Linked DNA regions of Homo sapiens: region 1 is linked to region 2. The links are contacts of gene promoters, found by promoter capture Hi-C in blood cells and fetal thymus (Javierre and others, 2016). All regions are on one chromosome and are shown on one strand. The core of a region is centred on a gene start or on the middle of the fragment in contact, and the rest is flanking DNA. Distances in the headings are between cores, read along the strand shown.

Evidence for each region. The method cuts DNA at HindIII sites, captures the fragments that hold promoters and counts their contacts. A CHiCAGO score of 5 or more calls a contact.
Region 1: a contact is called between a fragment that was not itself captured here and the fragment with the promoter of VPS36 in region 2, in 1 of 17 cell types (M0 macrophages). The highest score is 5.2, in M0 macrophages.

Annotation. Positions count from the first base shown.
Region 1 is chr13:51,891,492-51,894,191 of GRCh38, reverse strand. It overlaps a transcript of TMEM272 not described here. Among named protein-coding and RNA genes, the nearest start is that of CCDC70, 31 kb to the right of the region's middle. The HindIII fragment of the contact is 1,926 bases long and covers 354-2,279 here.
Region 2 is chr13:52,449,134-52,451,992 of GRCh38, reverse strand. VPS36 (vacuolar protein sorting 36 homolog) reads left to right here and starts at 1,359. Exons shown (of 14, transcript NM_016075.4): 1 at 1,359-1,494. The coding sequence starts at 1,399. RefSeq lists silencers at 1,113-1,172, 1,213-1,672 and an enhancer at 1,193-1,773. The HindIII fragment of the contact is 2,912 bases long and covers 1-1,978 here.

The sequences.
Region 1 (2,700 bases), core at 67-2,566, 560 kb after region 2:
TGTCCCAATACATCCCACTCCCTCCTTGATGATTTGAATTGTTGCTGACACTTTTTAACCTCTAAAGTTGTGATGACTACAAACTTGTTCCCCAAGCAGTTCTTCAATGCAGGGGGTGTGGTGTGTCTGTATCCATTTAGTCTCAATTTGAAGATTAGAAACTTGCTGGCCTGTCTCAGGCCTTCCAGGCTCCGTCCTGTGTGATGACTTCTTCCTTCTTTGCTCTGCATATAGCACTACTGTCTTCATCATTTATTACTATTGTGATCTTCGTTATTATTTAAATCATACAAAGTTCTGCATTGAGGATTTCATGTATTATATTTGTTTTCTCCACAACAAGATGACAAGCTTTTGGAATTATTTTTACATCTTAAAAAACAGTCTTTTCAGGACTGACCTTAATTCTGGGCACCTATCCAATAAATAACATTAATTAAATAAAAAACATTTTCCCAAACGCAGAAGCAACTGTGTGGCCTCCTCTGAGCACGATCACATTCCCTGGTGATCGAGTCTTCAGCTGATGCTGATCATTTGAATGTTCACATTCTCAATGTGAAGAGGCCAAGCAGAAGCGCATACGGTGTGAGCCAGGGGAAGAGATTTTTGTACAGCTCCTCTAAAGTAAACATTGTTTTGGGGAGAATCCCAGAAAAACACACATTCATCGTTGTTGCTGTTTTTTCCTGATTAGTCTCAGGACCACAGTGATTCTGAAGCAGCAGGTCCTGGTGAAGCTAAAGGAAGAGGGGGATCTGAGATTAGGGTGCAGGGAAGGAGGGACAATACTTCAGCACAGAAACAAGGCCCAGACTTTCTAATTTGGGATGCTTTTCGCATGTACTTCTTTACTGAGGGAGACAGAGCTTTTGATGCATTTAATACTGGCAAATTAAAATGGCTAAAACACAGATATAATTTAAGCTCTCTCCTAATCCTCTAAACAAATACTCGAGAACTGCAAAGAAAGAAAACTAAGCTAATCTCCATCTGAGAAGGTCTCCTTAGTTTGACTTCTGTTCCTGTGAACCCTTGGAGAGAAGGCCCTGGTACAAAGTCCTTGCCAGGGAGCTCATTGTTACTGCCAAGGACAGGTGGATGTTTAAGGAGTGTGTGCAGACAACTCAAGGAGCATGAAGGATGGATGTATGATGTTTGTCAGAAAATGGGAAGAGCTGAACAAATTAGCCAAGAACTTTTACTAGGTTCATTTACCTTTGTGTTGTAGTCAGGGTGCAGTAAAGAAAGGCAGGGAGTTTTGTGGACGGAATTTAATACAGCAGGCTAGTTAGAAGGACGTTATAAAACCAGGGGAGGGTGAGGCAACCCAGAGATTAGCAACTGCAGGAAGCCATTACCACTGCTAGGACGGAGGAACAAAGGGAGGGGACTGAGCCACCAGACCCAGGAACTGTGAGCTGGAACTGTGGAGGAGGGGCTGCATGAGATGCCACCTGAGGACCCTATGGCTGAAACCATGGGGGAAAGGCCATCATGGGGAATGGGAAATGGAAGCCAAGAAGAGGCTGTGTGATGGAGCTGGGTCCAAGGAGGAAATGTGGTCACCTACAGAGAGAGATGTAGTCACTGCCCAAGAAAAGACTGGAAAGGGAGGTGGAGCTGGTGTATTACCAAGTTTCCCTCTTCTTCCATCCATGCCTCCATTGGCTCAATCTAACAGGAAGCAAGTGGGCACAGAAGCCATCCCCCAACAATACCAAGCAGAGTAGGGGAAGGTGGGTAATGGGTCTGAAAGCAAGCAGATAACTTGCCTACCTGTGCCCCCTATTTTTCTGCCACACAAGTCTGCATGCTTTGGGGCACAGCAGATGTTCCAGGCTGAGATGAGATGACAATGATGATGAAAAACTGTGTACAGCGGAGTAGATGTTCCCACTTCCAGGCTTCGATAAACATAAACCAGTATATCTATTGATGGTTGACAGGAAAAGATTCCCAGTCTTCCAAGAGTCTCAGATCCCACCACCCCTGAGGGGCAGAGACTAGTCCTGCTCTTCCTGAGTTTCTCCACAGTCAGCAGGTGCCACAGGAGACTCAGATGAGGCAGGGAAAGGAGAGCCTTTCAGCTCTTCTCCCTGAGCCCTGTTTCCCCACCTCTTCCACATCTGGGTATGAAAATGGACCGTATTGCCACTGGGAGAAAGCCAAATCCCTAAATGTGAGCTCGCATAGCATTACTAATACACCTGATCTTCAGAATTTTGGTTAACACAAGTTTACACATATTTTCAAAAAATCATTGACCTTACAAAGCTTTTATTTGACTTTCAATTCCATTCTATTGACTGCCCTTGCCCCCCTCCAACCCCCACTGCCCAGTGGGCAAACAATCCTGATCAAGCTCACCCTTCCCTCCTCCAAATACTCTTTCCAAATACTCAGGACTAGAAGCTAGGGGTTCGAATCAAAAATGAATAAGACACAGTCCTGCCTCTTTTTCCTTCCATTTCCCTAGAACAGTAGTTGTCCCTCTCCTGCAACCCACCCCTGCGGAATCCTTCGTGCAGATGTCATGTCACTGAGGAAAATAATGCACAAAGCAGGGAAAGTGAAGGTGCTGTGCTTCAGTTGGGCATAGGAGCCCCAATCCCCTCCTCACCACCTCCCCCAGCCTGGGCTCATTCTGGAAATCCCTGGACCTTTTCAAAGCAGAGTTTGCAAATTTCTGCTTCAGGG
Region 2 (2,859 bases), core at 110-2,609:
CTAAAGAGAAAAATATGTATCAATTGTAGAAGGACATCTATAAGCTGCTCCATTTATTTATTTATTTATTATTTATTATTATTATTTTTGAAGCAGAGTCTCGTTCTGTCGCTCAGACTGGAGTGCAATGGTGCGATCTCGGCTCACTGCAACCTCTACCTCCAGGGTTCAAGCGATTCTCTTGCCTCAGCTTCCCGAGTAGCTGGGATTACAGGCACCCGCCACCACGCCGGGCTAATTTTTTGTATTTTTAGTAGAGACAGGGTTTCTCTATGTTAGCCAGGCTGGTCTCGAACTCCTGACTTGTGATCCGCCCGCCTTGTCCTCCCAAAGTGCTGGGATTACAAACGTGAGCCACCGCGCCCGGCCAGGTGTTCCATTTATAAAGCAAAATACAAAAATGAAATGGCTAGGGGCACGAGGCCGCCTGGTGGGTGAGAGCAGCGGCCATGGATGGCTTTGCGCAGACCAACAAACAGCTAAATTATAGAGGAACTACATATTGAAATGTAAATTCACGCATGAGGTCTGTATTAATATTGAAAATGCCTAAATAAAAATAATCTTTTTTTTCTGAGCCTGGGGGTGGGGGAGTGGAGTGGCGTGGGGGAGTTGGGGTGGAGGGGGAAAGGGTCTTTCTATGTCGCCCACTGGTGTCAAACTCCTGGGTTCAAGCAATCCTCCCGCCTCAGCTTCGGAAGCAGCTGGGAATACAGGCGCGCGCATCAAGCCCGGTTAAATAAAATCTGTTTCCCCCAGTTAAAAAAAAATTAATTTGTGTGGGTACATAGGTGTATATATTTCTGGGGTATATGGGATATTTTGATACAGGCATACACTGTATAATAATCACATCAGGGTAAATGAGGTATCCGTTACCTCAAGCATTTATCCTTTGTGTTACAATATAATCTTAAAGGGAAAAAAAGAGCAGCACAGGTAGTACTGACTGCAGCTGTACAGAAACAATGCGTGCCATAAATATTCATTTGAAAGAGAGGGGTTATGATTATTTACAATCATTAGCGAATGTAGCAACATTCTGGGCACTGACAAGAAAACTGCCACAAACATGCAGGCATAATGCACAATAAGCAAGTCCAAGCTGTGGTCGGGGCTCCCTCGCGTCCCTGTAAGCTCTGAATTTAGAATGGGGTGGACCGCCTGCTGATCAAGGGTTCTGAAAGGCCGGCGGCTAATGGACCGCCAGGGGGCGCTCCACGCACGTCTCCACGTCCCCGGGCGCACCTCGCAGCCGCGCCCGCTCGCTGCCAGGCCGCTCCCTCCGTCCCTCACCCGCCCCGACTCGCTTCCGTCCCGTCCGACGCTAGGGGGCGCCGCAGGCTGCCTGGCGCGCTGCTCGCGGCCTCGGAGGGCCGGGGCTGGGTGGCAGCGGCCATGGACCGCTTCGTTTGGACCAGCGGCCTCCTGGAGATCAACGAGACCCTGGTGATCCAGCAGCGCGGGGTGCGAATCTACGATGGCGAGGAGAAGGTAGGGCGTCTGCCAACCTTCCCAACGGGCTGGCGGAAGGGACCCCCGGTGGGCGCGCGGCCCGGCTCAGCGCGGCCCGGGTCGGCGCGGCCCGGTCCCCGGCTTAGCTCACGGCCCTCGGCGGCCCGGCAGGCCTCTGTGCGGGGTGCAGCGCTCTTGCGCTCCCCGCCGGTCGGTAGCACGTGGCGTGGGGCGCTCGGCTGCCTCCCCAGCGCGGGTCCCAACTTTGGCACGGTTCCCAGCAGGCGCGGATCGCGGCCGCTTCCCTCCGCCCGGAATGCTTCCGGGAGCGCACAGCTGCAGTGCCCGGGAGAAGGAGCGCTCGCCGTCTGCGGGCGCCGGGCGGCGATCCGGCAGTCGACTTCCTTGGCGTGGTTCCAGACCCCCTGACGACACCAACCTCGGCGTCGGCACCGGACAGCCCCGTTTCGCCTTTCTGTGAGGAGGGCGCGGTGGCCGTACAGTCCGTGCCCCAGCGGAAGCTTTAGCTTGGACCTTATGCAGTCGGAGGGATTAGCATATCTGGGCAGAGGGGTGAGGGATTGCTTCGAAAGGATTTCCTAAAGAGGTATCAGTGCTTCATTGGAATGCCCTTGCCAAAGGCTATTGGGTTTTTGTTTTGTTTTCTAATTGCTTTAGAAAGGCGTTCTGAGCGTGTTTTGTAAAGTGTTATATTAATAGTAGACCGTGCCTTGTAGTGCAAGCATAAATCTTAGAAGGTGCGTTTGCAAATCGAGAGGAGAAATAGGAAGTGTAAGTAAATATTTTGTAGATACTTTACTGAAACTATGAAATATCTTGTCCTGGATTGAAATGGATAAACTGGAATTAGAAAAATTTTAAAACTCATTTACCCACAAGCATTTTTGGTTTCCAGAAGTTTTAATTTGCTACCTCTCTTCCCTTGCCGTTTTATTAACGACACTTTCCGCTGTACTTTGATATAAGTTCCTCAACTCAGCTTTTCCTGGTAAGTGCTTACAGCTATTTAGAGGCACAGGTGACATTGGACCCAGGTCCTCTGACTCTCTTAGGGCATTTTCTATGGGCTGTGTTGCCTGTATTAGTGAGTAAAGGTCTTTTCCTTAAATAATTTGCTTGGACCTAACTTCACTTACTGCCTTAGCACTTCTTAATTTAATTAATTAATTTATTTATTTTGAGACAGAGTCTCGCTCTATCGCCAGGCTGGAGTGCAGTGGCGCGATCTGGGCTCACTGCAACCTCCGCCTCCCAGATTCAAGATCCTGCCTCAGCCTCCTGAGTAACTGGGATTACAGGCGCCTGCAACCATGCCCGGCTAATTTTTGCATATTTAGTAGAGACGGGGTTTCACCACATTGGCCAGGCTGGTCTCTAACTCCT